4 separate regions of the Homo sapiens genome follow, and regions 2, 3 and 4 are each linked to region 1. The links are contacts of gene promoters, found by promoter capture Hi-C in blood cells and fetal thymus (Javierre and others, 2016). All regions are on one chromosome and are shown on one strand. The core of a region is centred on a gene start or on the middle of the fragment in contact, and the rest is flanking DNA. Distances in the headings are between cores, read along the strand shown. Region 1 holds the start of ALKAL2 (ALK and LTK ligand 2). Region 2 has its middle 34 kb from the start of LINC01875. Region 3 overlaps TMEM18 (transmembrane protein 18). Region 4 has its middle 29 kb from the start of FAM110C.

Region 1 (3,499 bases), core at 452-2,951:
TTTAAAAATGTGATCTTAAGTGAATGTTGAAGAAAATTGGAGCTCCATATTAGCCAAGTTGCTTTGCACAAAATAAAAAAGACTGGGGCCCTGGATTGCAACACACGACAGTGAAGAAGACTCAATATCAGGGACATTTATTTTCCTTGAAATAACAGTAACTGCTCCTGAAGCTCCAGGATTATGTCGGCTGTCTACCCCGTGGGATGCAGACAGAGACCACGAAGTTACAGAGGTAAGAAAACTGTTTTTTTTTTCTTTTAAACATTTAACTTCCAGTGAATAAGTCACTTTTAGGCACTTTAGTTTTAAGGACCTTGGGAATCAAATCCCACAACATTTCAAAGTTTTTAGAGAAAACCTGACCCTTCAAACAAAAAAATGGGTTACAGAACATTACTTTATCTAGATACATATTTAGAGTAAGGATTAAAAGACCACGTTTCAGTGAGGTGTAAATTAGTGGGAATATGCATGAACCTGGTTTGTAGGGTAAGAATCCCAGGGAAAGACTCTGCCAAGCAAACTTCTTCCACCAGGGTTCTCCGCACACAGTGGGTGGGGAGAACCCTGCAAGGGCGTTCTTCTTGAGTTCAGCTTTGTTTTTGCGTATTTACAGCCCTCTCCATCTTCACTCCCCCGTTCAGGGCTCCTGGCTGAGCCCCGACTGTGTGTGAAGTCACGCCCTCTGAAGAGGAGCATTCGCATCCACAGCTGACCCCCTAGTGAGTCTTCATTCACTCCTAACTTGACGCAGCCGGGATAAAACTGACCTTATCATGTTTGACCTGATTGTGTCACAAAAGCATTAGACGCTTTCATGCTTTCCTGGGAAATTCCCCGTGGGCCACCACTCTGGGCAGGGCCATGAAGGAGCCTGGATGCTTCCTTTTCAGTTGGGAAAGCTTTGCTGGAAATGCTTCCATTTCCAAAGTGACGGTTGACAGTTTAGTGTGGAAACCACCGACCCGCGCCGCAGCTCACGCGCGCCAGAAGGAGACCAGGCGCTTCTCCGCCAGGCCTCATGCGCGGACCTATTGCTGCTATTTTCTTTTTCTTAAAAAAAAAAAAAAAAAAAAAAGGAATCCTGCTGTTCAGTGGTCAAAATTGATGTCTCTTTTTGAAACGTGTTTCTCAAAGACAATTCTATTTCCCAGCAGCCCCGGCCCTCGGGCGCGCTCGGCCCCACTCACCCACTCGCTGCTCCGGCGAAGGCCCCAGCCCCGCCGCCTCCGCGCGGCCCAGGGCGCAGTCCCGCCCGAGGAGCTGCAGGCCCTTGTGCTCCGCCGAGTGGTGCTTCCGCAGCTCCTGGACGAGTTCCACCACCAGCCGCAGCAGCGCCTGTCCGTCCGCCGGCTCCCGGGGCTCCGCGCCCCCCCGGCCGCGCCCCGCCGCCCCCAGCACCAGCAGCAGCCCCAGGAGGAGGGGGTGCCCGGGTCCGCGCATCGTGCGCTCGGGGCCGCGGGGCTGGGAGACTCCGACACGCGCCGAGAGCTGGGCTCGCTGCGAGAGAAGGGGCGCGGGGGGCCGGAGAGAAAGTCAGCGGGGGAGGGGGACGGAGCGCGGGGCGGGGGAGGGGAGGGGAGGCGGGAGGAGCCGCTGGCGCTGGACCCGGCCCCTCACCTCCGCGGACCCCGAGGAACAAGCCGGCAGGTGAGGGAGCCGCGGTCTCCTCGACGATCACGCCCGAGGTCCCGCCCACGGGGAGCGACCGCCGCTGGTGCGGAAAGGAGCCCCCGGAACCCGCCCGCCCGCCAGCCCGGCCCCTCCTAACTTTCGCCCGAAAGGCCGCGTCCGCCGAGCGCGCTGCGCCTGGCGCGGGCGCAACTTTCTTTCCCCTTTGGAAGCCGCGGGTGCCAGGCAGCTCCCCGGCCGCGGGCGGACCTCGGAGGGGCCGCGCTCCCGCGCCTACCGCTCTCCAAGAAGGCGGCGCCGCGCGCCGGGCCCGGCGGCCGCGCTCAAGTTTCCAGCGTCGCCTTTGCGCGGTGGTCGCCGGCGAGCGCCGAGTCCCCGAAGCCCACGGAGGAGGCCGGGTGCGGACCCTCGCGCTGGCCCCGGCCGCGCCACGTGCTGGAAGCCCCTCCACCTCCCGGCCATGGCGCCCTCCCGCACCTGCCCGGCGCCACCCGGGAGCCACCTGCGCGTCGTGGCCGGGCCGGTTACCTGGAGCCGCCGGAGTCGTCGCCGTCTGTGCGCACGTCTGTCCCCGCGCCCCGAGCTGCGCCACTACTCCATGCCCGGCGGGCGGAGCGCACGGGACGCGGGGACTCGGCCGCTCCGAGCGCTGGACCCACGGCCGACCTGGGGTGCGCCGGCTCCGAGTCCCGCCTCAGACCTCGGGGAGCTTCTTATCCCCGCGCCCGCCGACGTCAGGCGGGTCCCCAAGGGCTCCGAGCGGGGCTTTAATTAGAAGCCGCTGAAGTGTTAGTACCCCCATGCGGATCTTCGTCAGTCCCCCCGCCTCACCTCGCTCTCGCCTCCCCCCGTCTCCCGCTCCCCCTCAACTCCGCCCCCGCCCCCGCCCGGTCCCCCCACCCGCATCTCCACCGCGTCTCCCCCTCGCCCGCGCCCCGTCTCCCGCGCCCCTTCCCTCCCCACCTTCCCCATCTCCCGTCTCCTCCTCTCCTGCCCCACCTTCCCCCACTCCCCGTCTCCTCCTCTTCCCCCTGTTCTCCTCCCCCCGCCCCTCCCCCAGTCTGTTTCCCTCCGTTCCTGTCACTTGTGACAGGATGAGAAGAAACGCCTTTACCAGGAACTCGGTTCTGTTTTTGTCTAAATGTAGATCTTGGGCTATTAAAAAGGGAGCTGCCTGATTGCTTCGACATTTAATAAGTCAATTAGAGTCCATCCGTTTTGGAGGGATCCGCTCTCCGGACCTCGAGGGGTCTGCCCCGCCCGAGCCCAGTCCCCAGGTTCGGGTCCCCAAGCCCTGGTCCCCGAGGCGGGGCGGCCAGGAGGCAGGAGATGGGCGGGTGAGGACTCTCCACGGCCCCCGAGGTGCGCACAGCTGACCACCCGAGGAGGGGCAGGACCTGCACCCCCTCCCCAGACCCCCTGCGAGAGGACGAGCGAAGGTCCCTCCCCGGCAAGGACCGCGCCATCTGCGCGCTCCTCTGCGCTGGACCCTCGGCCCGCGGGTCCCTCGCGCCCCGGCAGGGAACGCCCGCAGGAGGGCACTTGCCTCCCGGACTCGTCTTTAAGAAAGTTTGGCTCTTTGGCCGAAGCCCGGCACATCTGTGAAAGTTCAGCAATTTGCCTCTTTTATTTTATTCTTGTAAAATGTATTATCAATCAGTTGCGCACTTTCCCATTCGATTGGTGCTTTCTGGGCAAGAGCTGGACGTCTTCCAAGTCCGCGATCTGTTTGGGAAAGGTGTTCTGAGTGCAATCAGAGAGGCGGAGTGGGCGAGAATTAAAGGCCTGCACCATGATCGGGGCAGTCGCAGGACCGCGGCGGGAAGGTGCTGGCCCAGGCGCACGTGAGCGCGGGCGGTGCGGG
Region 2 (3,396 bases), core at 496-2,995, 290 kb after region 1:
CATCTACTTAGAAAAATATACAGAGCAGGATTTCATATCCTTTCACTAAAAACAACTCAAATGCTCGTCAACAGAATTGTTGAGTAAGTCGTGTTATAAGCTTACAATAAAATACCATAGAACAACAAAATTATCAAAATGTTACATACAATAAAAAGGATAAATTTTATAAAATAACATTTGAGAAGAAGCCAGACACAGAAAAATATATTATATGAGTCTCTTCATTGAAATGTCAACATTAGTCAAAGCTGATTCCACAATGCATATTCATCCAAACAGCATGTTGTATATCGTGAATATATACAATTTTTACTCATCAAGTGAACATTTTAAAAAATTGGTCAAAATTTATATTGGAAATTAGAATTTTTTTCTTTTTTTTTTTTGAGACTGAGTCTTGCTCTGCTGCCCAGGCTGAAGTGCAGTGGTGTGATCTCAGCTCACTGCAACCTCTGCCTCCCGGGTTCAAGTGATTCTCCTGCCTCAGCCTCCTGAGTAGCTGGGATTACAGGCATGTGCCACCACGGCTGGCTTTTTTTCTTTTTTTTTTTTTTTTGTATTTTTAATAGAGACGGGGTTTCACCATTTTGGTCAGGCTGGTCTCGAACTCCTGGCCTCGTGATCCACCCACTTCAGCCTCCCAAAGTGCTGGGATTATAGGCATGAGCCATCGTACCCGGCCTGAAAATTAGAATTTTTTTTTTAAATAAGAAAACAGAATTCTCCTGTTAGGAATTAGGATGATGCTGCGTTGGCGAAGAGGGAATGGCGATGGAGGGAGATTGAGACACGGAAATGCCAGGGGTGTCCTGTATGCTGACCTGGACGCTGTGTGCTGAGTCATAGTTCATCAAGCCCTGTGTTTAGAGCTCTCATTATCTTCTGAAAGTTTGGCAAGCTATAACAAATACAAAGATGTCAGTAAAACAAACAAACAAATAACAAGGGTGCAACCTGAGGCCCAATCAGAGCCTCTGCTCCCAGCTTGCCAACTGCCTCTGTGGTCCACTGGAAGGCAGCCATTCCACCTGTGCTCACAAGGAGCTTGGCCTGGGCAGGACTGGGCTGCACCTGGCACCCGCGTCTCCCGTCTCATCCCCTCTGTGCACAGCAACCTGGAGACCGACAGCAGCAGCCAGTGGGAAGTCTTCAACCCCATGATGCACACAGGGCGGCTGCGGCTCTGAGGTTTCCTGCCGAATTCTCAGGGTCTTCTCTTGTTGCAACTGGTTTTGCTTCCTGTCACTGATACATCGATCATCATGCTTGTAGGCTCAACAGAGGGATTTTTTTTCAATTATTTACAAAGAATGTTTAATTGAATAAAATGAAAACAAACCCAACGTGCTATTTACAAAAAAAAAAAAAAAACACTCATTAATAAAATTATAAGTCAGGGTTCGGCAAACTATGACTTCAGTTTGTTTTTTGTTTATGTTTAACTGACCGTGAACTACACGTGTTCTTTGCATTTTTATAAGATTATAAAAGTAAAAAGAAGCATATGCAACAGATGCCCTGTGTATCCAAGAAACATAAAATATTTACTATGTGGCTCTTTATGAAATAGGTTTACCAAACCTGATTGTGAAGAAGGACTGAGTCACAGAGGGATGTGCAGAAGGCCGGGCAGAGGTGGCAGCAAGCCAGCTAGAGGGTGGAGGTCTCCGTGTGAGGGCGCTGAGTGGGGGCAGTGGGTCAAAGCCTCCTGGGGGCACTCTGTGGAAAGCACGTTTAACAGTCACCAATTTATATGCACAGAACTTAGCACCTGAGTATAAACCAACAATGAAAACGTAATAAGAACGGGACAAAATACATAAAAAGCCCAATGGATTTCAGTCCCATCCAATCCAGTAAAATAGTAGTGGAAAATTTTAACCACAACTTTTAGAATGGGGACGCTCCAGTGCATAAACCTAAATCGTGATGCAGAAAAACTGAACACGCAGTCAGTAAAACAAATTCAGTAACTATATATATAGAATGTCACTTGAATAGAAAACATGAACATCCACTGACCATTTAAAAAAATGAAATTTAGAAGTCGAAAAGTAATAAAGGCAGTAATAGTGAAGTGGGTAACAGGATGAAAGGGTAATCCTTAGATCAAATCTCAATTTCTAAGGAACATTGCAAGTCTCACATTACGGCTGGTGGCCACTCGATAATAAAACATCACTGCACGAGCCTGGCTAAGGTGATACAGAGAGGTCCCTATTTCCCATGGGGGTGTGGGAGAGATGCACGGTCTCATCCGTGGCTGCTGGGCTTGGTAAAGCACTTTGGAGAGAAATCTGACAGCATGCATTCAAGTTAAAAATGCATCAACCTTTCTGTGAGCCAGCTTAGTCCCCAGCATCTGTTCTGTGGAATAAAAGCCCAAGTAAGAATTAATGTGCAAGGAAAGTTATGGCAAACTATGTTCGTAGTTGCAGAAGTCTGGAAACCAGGCAAATGCCCATCAGTAGAAGAATAGCTGAATAGATGATTGTATTTAACACGGTGGAGGGTTAAGCAGACGCAGCATTAACATCATGAGCTTTTAAGAGCTAATTAAAAATATATCAGTTGACTTGGGTTTCAAAGTTGTGGATGAGTTAAAAAAAAAACAGATTTGGGAGACGTACAATAGAATCCCATTTGTATTAATGGGATTTTTAATAATGGCTAAGGTAAATGTGAATTTAAATATTTATGCTTGTGTTTGCATATTATCATATGGCCATGGAGAAAAATACGTGGAAGTCTACATGCCAGGTTTCTATCTGGAGGAGGGAGTGGGAGAGGAGGCGGCAAGGAGAAAAAAGGTTATTGAAAATGGAAAAGAGAAAAAAAATAAGAGAAAAATAAGGAATGCACCCCTAACAAGGTAATTTACATATTTATATGATTGCATTTATGGGTATAAGCATAAAGCATTATTAAAGAAAAATAAAAGTGAATGCTTATTTCTGGAGAGCTCTGTAATTTGTCAGGCAAGTTTCCTGGGCCTAGACACACAGTCAAAGGCAGTCAGTGAGGAAAGGGCAGCTAAGCCAGCCCTGAGGGTGGGTAAGGGCCAGGATCTCAGCTGGTGCACACAGCCGGGAGTGTGGTGCTGATGAAACATTGTTGGGAAGTTTAAGGATTGTGAGCCGACGGTTGTGCAGAGGCATCCGGCCTCCATCGTAAGATGCCAGACTCGGGCCATTGATTTGGCAAGAAATTCCCAAGATCTGACCAGAGTGCCTGTGTCTGTGTGGAGAGACCTCTGTGTCCATCTGCAGCCCTCTGTGGAGGGTGTAGTCCGGGCCAGCATGACTCCTGTGAGCCTCGGCCTCCACACTGACAAACAGGAGTGTGGTCTGAGACAAGGTTCCAGATCCCTTCCCTGTCCAGAGCTCCTAAAGC
Region 3 (3,530 bases), core at 493-2,992, 370 kb after region 1:
TGCCAGAAGAAGAGCTGCTGAGCGGCGGTTCCCACGCGTGCTGCAGACGCTTTTCAGAGACAAGTCTTGGTCTTTGTGCTGGACGGAGGCAATGCTGCTAATGGGAGGCGGAGCCCACCTGCTCCTCAGCCAGGCCGCAGGGAGAGGCAGGCAGCGGTGAAAGCCGCTGAGCGGGAAGCAGGGCCGGGATGTAAGGCAGAAGCCGCAGGGACGTCGGCTGGGCCTCGGTTGAGAGCAGGGGAACGAGGAGCGGGTCTCCCAGTCGGGCTTCTATCTAAGGACAGAGCTGCTGTGCACCGGCTCCCTGAACTGCTCCTGCTCCCTGCAGTGCTCCCACTCCCTGCTGTGCACCCGCTCCCTGCTGTGTACCCACTCCCTGCTGTGTACCCACTCCCTGAAGTGCACCCACTCCGTGCTGTGCACCCGCTCCCTGCTGTGTACCCGCTCTCTGCAGTGCTCCTGCTCCCTGCAGTGCTCCCGCTCCCTGCAGAGCTCCCCCTCCCTGCAGAGCTCCTGCTACCTGCTGTGCACCTGCTCATACAGTTCACCCACTCCCTGCAGTGCTCCCACTCCCTGCTGTGCTCCTGCTACCTGCTGTGCACCTACCTGAAGTGCTCCCACTCCTTTCAGTGCTCCTGCTCCCTGCAGCGCACCTGCTCCTTGTAGTGCTCCCGCTCCCTGCAGTGCACACGCTCCCTGAAGTGCTCCCGCTCCCTGCTGTGCTCCCGCTCCCTGCTGTGCACTCGCTGCCTGCAGTGCTCCCACTACCTGCAGTGCTCTCGCTACCTGCTGTGCACCCGGAGCTGCCGAGGCTGGGCCCTGGATGGTGCAGGTGGGCCTTGGGTGTAGAGTGCAGCCTCGCCCCCATTTCCCGTGGACGTTTCCAGCCGCCCGAGTCTTCTGAGACCACAGATAAGGTCAAGCGAAGGAGGGCGTATCACTTCAGCTTCCAACTTCTACTCTCTACTTAAAAGTAGTTCCTGAGGCCAGCAGCGCGTCAAGGGCCAGGGTGGGGCCCTTCATCCTTTCTCTTCGTGTGTCTGAGCCTCCCAGTGTCCAGCAGGCAGAAGTGGTGAGCTCCTCGGGCCTGCAGCATCTTGTGAGGCTCATCCCTATCATAGCACAGCCCCCACAGAGCAGCCTCTCAGTCCCTCCATTCTCATCATGTTACTTCACTGGATAGGTCTTCTTTAAAAAGCATTCGTGGGCCGGGCACGGGGGCTCACGCTTGTAATCCCAGCACTTTGGGAGGCCGAGATGGGTGGATCACCTGAGGTCAGGAGTTCGAGACCAGCCTGGCCCATATGGTGAAACCCAGACTCTATTAAAAATACTAAAAAATTAGCTGGGCGTGATGGCAGGTGCCTGTAATCCCAGTTACCCGGTAGGCTGAGGCAGTAGAATCGCTGAAACCCAGGAGGTGGAGGTTGTAGTGAGCCGAGATCATGCCACTGCACTCCAGCCAGGGCGACAGAGTGAGACTCCGTCTCAAAAAAAAAAAAAAAAAGCATTCCTGAAACTAGACCATGTAAATGCACTTATTCATTCACATCATCATCTGTGTGGGTGCAGGTGCAGCATGGGTGTTTTCTAATGTAACGGAAAAATGAAATCAGTGATGTCTCCAGGCGCCTACATGTGTGCACGTGTGCACACGTGAGAGTACACTGCTGCATGTATCGTGTGGGTATGTGCATGAGTGTGAGCTTACATGCACAAGTGAGAGTGTATATGTAAACCTGCACTGTGTACGTTGCGTTGTGACATGTGCGCATGTCTCTGTGTGTTCACGTGTGCACGTGTCTCTGTGTTCACATGTGTGCACATGTGACTCTGTGTGTTCACCTGTGTATGTATTTAGGTCTGTTTCTGGACAGTAAAAACTGACTTTACAACTGATTTGGGATGTGGTTAACCTCATTCAAATGAACACAGGAAACCGAAGCCCTGTGCTTCCCGGCTCATTCCCTTCAGCTCCGGGTGACGTTCCTCAATCAAAAATATTAGACTTCTCTTTCTGAATAAGTGACAGAAATTTTCCCCAAGCAGCCAAACAGGGGCCTCTGGCATGGTGCTGTGGTGCCCTCTGGAGGGTTAGTGGAAAAGATGTCTTTCTCAGACAGAACGGGGAACGAACTGGAAAAGCTCTGCAGAGCCAAGGAGGTATGCGGCCCCAGATCCTGACGTTCCCCTTTCACAGCTCAGGAGACCAACCTGTGCAGGATCCACGACTCTGGCCCCACGTCGGGCCGGGCATCTCTTTCACGCAGCAGCTACATGTCACATTTCCTTTTCTCTATTCTGGTCCTGGAGTGAGCAGCACAGGACGCATTCTGTATGCTCCACATCATTCTGGGGATCAGATCAGCACCACCGCATCGCCAGCCCCACCAAAGCCGTTAACAGACGTGCAGTTTAGGGAATCTAACACATATCTTTTGATCCTTACAGTGATCTTATAAATAACTATGTCGAGTATGCCTATATACCTTTCCTGAAGGGAAACTGAAATTCGAGGCCATCATCACCATGTCCAGTGAGAACCAAGGCTCTTATAAAATTGATCATGTTCTGTGGTCATCACAGGAAGTGTTTTCACTCGGAATCTATCGTCAGACATGTCAGTACCTCTCAAGAGTTCTCATGAACACATTTTTACAATGACCACGTATTAATGTGCAGAATTCCACAACAGCTTGCAGCTGTTACCCTGGAAAATCCACTAATTGCATACGTATTTCAATGTGCTGTCGACATAAAGGTGACGCCCTGTAGGATGGGGGTCATAAACCTGCCAGGACAATGGTGAAGACTTGGGAGGGTAAGAAATGAGAAAGCGCTGTGTGCCCTTGAAGCAGCCGGGAAACCCGCATCCACCCAGGCTGCACCTCCACTCCCAGGCTCCGCGCTGCTTCCGGTCTGTTGTTCTGCTCAGGACTGTGATTGCAGCGGGGAAGCCTCTCACTCACCCAAGAGCCCCGTGTGCGGCCTAGGGTTGGTGGGAGACACAAACCCATCCCAGCCCAACCTGAGGTCATCGGTTACAAAGGACAGTGGCAGGGAAGTCAAGGCCCCACAAATGTCCACTCAGTACTTTTCAGAACTTACATGCTTCTAATATGTGCCAGGTATGCTTTGAGAGACTCTTGGATGGACTTTCTTGTATTGTCAATATATAAGCTGTCTGAAATTTATTATTTGATTTGTCACATCAGTAACTTACAGAGAAGAATTTAAAGAGCAAAAAAGCCAACATGAGTAACTTTATTTATAAAGGTGTCACAGTTCTTGGCAAGTAAATCCATTCCTAGGTAAACCATGGCTTCTGGCTTCAAATTCACAATTCCTAAGGTCCCCCTTTTTTTACCTGGATGCTTGAGCAAAAGGATATTCGGTTTGGAGGCTAGAGAAGGAAGCAATGATGCTGCCTGGGTATTTCACAGGCATTTGTATAATAAATGAAATGAACTTGGAAAGCATTTAAACACCAGCCACCCATCAGTGTGAACTAAGTAACAGGTGAAATCATA
Region 4 (3,581 bases), core at 4-2,503, 270 kb before region 1:
TCCCTCTGCCTCTGGAGAACTACCTGCCCCATCTCTCATGATAAATCCTTTCTTCATTCTTTATGTTGCAGCCCCTTTGCTCCTTCCTTAAGGATGTCTATCTGGCTCTATTTTGGGTGACATGCTCCTTCTGCATCTCCCAGAGCCAGCCTGTGTGTGTCAGCTACAGCATTTCTTTGCATCTCTGTGTCATATATCACCAAATCTGCCTAAGCTTGAGTGAGTCACTGCATGACAACTTCAGACTCCAACAGCATTGTCCGCACTAACCACGAGGCTTAGACATTTGTCCAGTATGCTCAGGGTTGTGGGGTGGTAGCAGTAACCAGCTGGTGAGCATCATCTCCTACATTAGAATGAAATCTGTAGATCTCTGCCATTCATAAGTATTTGGAGTTTAACATTAGCATAAAGATTTTCCTTAAAATAAGAACAAATGGCTTGAGTCAGCTTTTGGAACATAGGATATTTCCACTGGTTCATTTCTGTGTTCAGTATTCCCACATGAATCTAAACACGACTCGACTCTTAGTAGCTGTGTGACCCTGGGAAAGTCACTCAATCGCCCTCAGCTAAATTATGTGTGTGAGTAATGAGAAGAGAGTTGTTGTTTGTATTTAGTGAATAATAACAAACAAAAGGCATTTAGTTTTCTGGAACCTGATATGTAGTAGTTCCTCATGAAATACTAGCTCTGTTGATAAAACTAGACTGAAAGGAGCTTTCAAAGTCAACAACAACATCATGCAGTGAAGGATGTAGATGAGAAGCTGCTGCTGCAGCCTGGAGCTCCTGGAGGCCCGTTTTGTCCATGATTTAGCAGGAATGCATTACCTTTCCATCAAGAGATGCTGCCCACAGAAACCAAGGCCATTCTTTGAAGACAAACATGTTTTAATAGCATTTACATTATATAATAGTGTAATATAATTATTAATAATGTAAAATTATTTAGATTATTATGTTATGACTTTTGTACAGACCTTTACACCTAGGTATTCTGAAGTTGGTGGTCTGTGAGTGGCATCGAGTGATGACTGACACACTCTGACCTGGGGTAGAACAACACGTCTCCCTGCAGTTTGCTGAATTTTAGGGCGTCACCACCTGTTTTCAAGAGTGTGTTTTTCTATCCTCCCGAGTTTTGCCCACCTAAGCAATGGTTTTGCTGTAATAAAGAATTACACTATTTACCAAAATGTTCCTTTGGAGAATAAAGTTTTCTTAAACTATCAGGACCATAGCTAATGTCAGTGGCGCCAAGGATCAGAAGGTAAAAAGGCCTTTTTTTGGGGGGGCCAAGAGAAAAAAAATCACCACATTTCAAACTGTCTCATGCTAGTCACCGGAAAATTAGAAATGAACACACTCCCTCCCAGCCCAGTCACAGCTACTAAATAACAAAGATCTCCTGCAGGTGCCTGCAGGTGCTCCTTTGTGCGCCTGGGGTTGCTGGCTGGCACTGGGCAGCAGGCAGCAGAGCTGGTCCCACACAGGCACATTGAACAGCCTGGATCTTGGCCTGGCGCTGGCTGGGAAGCTATTTGATGTCAGGCTCAATGTGGACTTCTGAATTGAAAGGAGAGTATGGGTCACCCAGCCCCACTTACTCATTTTACAAAGAATGAAAATGGGGCTCTATGCCAGACGTGAGAGTACACATTGTAAGGCTGTGCAAGCTCGCTGCACTTGTATCCACTCAGCACACACTTACTGAGTGCCGAGTGTCTCCAGCATGAGAGGGGCTCTAGTTCCCGGGGTCCCACCCTCCACAGAGGATGGCAGCACTTTGAGGGACAGAGGTGCAAAGAGCAAGTTGGGGGCCCTTCTGCTGGAGAGGTGGCTGGGGAGGGTCCTTAGAGGAAGTGACACCTGAGCTCTTCTCTGAAGGGTGAAGCTGAATTACTTGAACCTTTGGGCGAAGGGGTGTCTAGGAAAGTGGAGCCTGTGAGTCAAAAGCAAAATGACTTGTCCAGAGAAGTGTGACAAGTTCCATATTCTTTCTATGCCAAACTTGAATAGGAATCACCAAAGGAAAGAGCAGGATCCTGGAGCCAGGGCCTTGGATTTCACCCGCTGGCAATGGGAATGTTCACTGGGAATTTTGGGGGGCAAAACGTGAAAGTGTTTTCTCTTAGCTCCAATTCTCTCTGTCTCTCTGTCTCTTCCTGTCCCTCTCTCTCTCCCTTATCTTTAATTTTTCTATTATTCTAAGAAAACACAGATGTCTCAGATGTGGGGATTAGCAGCCTGCCTCTTTCTGGATGACTTCAGGGGAGCACTTTGGCCTCTGTAAGCTTATTTACAATAATTCATGAATCTTGCAAAAAAAAGTCATGGTAGCAGAGGTTAGAAAATCTCCTAGTATTTCTTCTGATACTTTGAATTTATGATTAATATATTTAGTCTTCATCTTCTGAAAAGTTACCAGTTGCACAGTGAGGACCATAAAGGGAGTCTGTTTCGGTGGTTTCTGGCTGCAACAGTCAGTGGTTTTGCAGCAATAGCATTGCATGTGGGTTTTAGGCTGATGATGCTCAACAGTGGACAATCCTTTTCACCTGCCTTGGCTGCACTGCCCACCCTTCCATACAGTGCGGGGTCACAGCTGAATTCCCCAAGATACCTTGCAGGATGTCGGCTTCTGAACTTTCAGGTGTCTTCCAGGTGAAGGCTTGGTCTCATAGCCTTTGTGGCTTCCTCCAGGTAACACTTGGTTTTTTGACCTAACCCTGGTATTTGTGTGGCACACGTGTGAATGTGTGAATGTGCTCCCTGTGGCAGTGCTGAGGAAGGGCTCAGTCATCACAGATGCGAAAAGGCAGTGTGCTCTTTTCCAACATCTCCAGTCTTGTATTATTTTTACCCATCAGCCCATTTAAAAAAGAAACACAAAAAGCCTCCTGTTAGAATTAAATCCCCTCTGAAGATAATGGGTATTTTTAAAATCTTTAATTTTGTTTATAGTCACATTTGCTCCCAGTGCCTGCCAGGATCCACTAGAGGGCAGAGACACCCGTGTGTATTTGGCTGGGTCTCACTCCTGAGAGAGGAGACCTTCCTCTGGACCAGGTACCAAGACAGACCCTAATTGGAAAATGTTGTCTTCTAAGGAAAGATGCAGCACCCACTAGAAAGGAAAACACCAGAAAGTTTTAAAAAGGAAAAACCAAGGGAAGCCGAGGAGCTTCTTGATAGGGGACACAGCAGAGGCCACCCAGCTGGGGTGAATCTCCACAGTTCCCCAACGGGACGGCGGGTGGGAGCCCCAAGTCACTGGCCCCTGCAGCATGGGGGCAGCTGCTGAGTGGTAATCAAAACAGACACCCTGCCCTCCCGCAGCCAAACTCCAGTGCCAGGCCCAGCGGCAGCAAATAAGAAAACCTCGGTTTCTCTACCTGCATCAGCTACACGGTGCTCACACACGGGAGGCATCAGCCAGTTTTCTCAATTAAAGAGGTAGAAACAAAATGTGTCTTCACTACTTTTTGAATTTACCATGTTATCTAAAGTTTTAATTTAATTGAATGAATAAACTCCCTATGCATCTGGACACATGCAGGAAAATTCACAAACATTTC

The links. Contacts are between HindIII fragments. The CHiCAGO score rates a contact against its expected background, and 5 or more counts as called.
Region 2: a fragment that was not itself captured here is called in contact with the fragment with the promoter of ALKAL2 in region 1 in 1 of 17 cell types (naive B cells); the score reaches 5.7 in naive B cells.
Region 3: a fragment that was not itself captured here is called in contact with the fragment with the promoter of ALKAL2 in region 1 in 1 of 17 cell types (megakaryocytes); the score reaches 10.1 in megakaryocytes.
Region 4: a fragment that was not itself captured here is called in contact with the fragment with the promoter of ALKAL2 in region 1 in 1 of 17 cell types (total CD8 T cells); the score reaches 5.4 in total CD8 T cells.

What each region holds. Positions count from the first base shown.
Region 1 is chr2:286,390-289,888 of GRCh38, forward strand. It overlaps ALKAL2 (ALK and LTK ligand 2), which reads right to left and starts at 1,702. Exons shown (of 6, transcript NM_001002919.3): 1 at 1,624-1,702; 2 at 1,194-1,503. The coding sequence starts at 1,446. It overlaps LOC101927262 (a long non-coding RNA gene), which reads left to right. Exons shown (of 3, transcript XR_007085917.1): 1 at 1-235. RefSeq lists a silencer at 1,217-1,266. The HindIII fragment of the contact is 4,532 bases long and covers 904-3,499 here.
Region 2 is chr2:578,541-581,936 of GRCh38, forward strand. No RefSeq gene overlaps it. Among named protein-coding and RNA genes, the nearest start is that of LINC01875, 34 kb to the left of the region's middle. The HindIII fragment of the contact is 3,295 bases long and covers 99-3,393 here.
Region 3 is chr2:660,645-664,174 of GRCh38, forward strand. It overlaps TMEM18 (transmembrane protein 18), which reads right to left. Exons shown (of 5, transcript NM_152834.4): 5 at 3,233-3,530. Among named protein-coding and RNA genes, the nearest start is that of TMEM18-DT, 15 kb to the right of the region's middle. RefSeq lists an enhancer at 1-540. The HindIII fragment of the contact is 8,201 bases long and covers 1-3,530 here.
Region 4 is chr2:15,838-19,418 of GRCh38, forward strand. No RefSeq gene overlaps it. Among named protein-coding and RNA genes, the nearest start is that of FAM110C, 29 kb to the right of the region's middle. The HindIII fragment of the contact is 2,083 bases long and covers 213-2,295 here.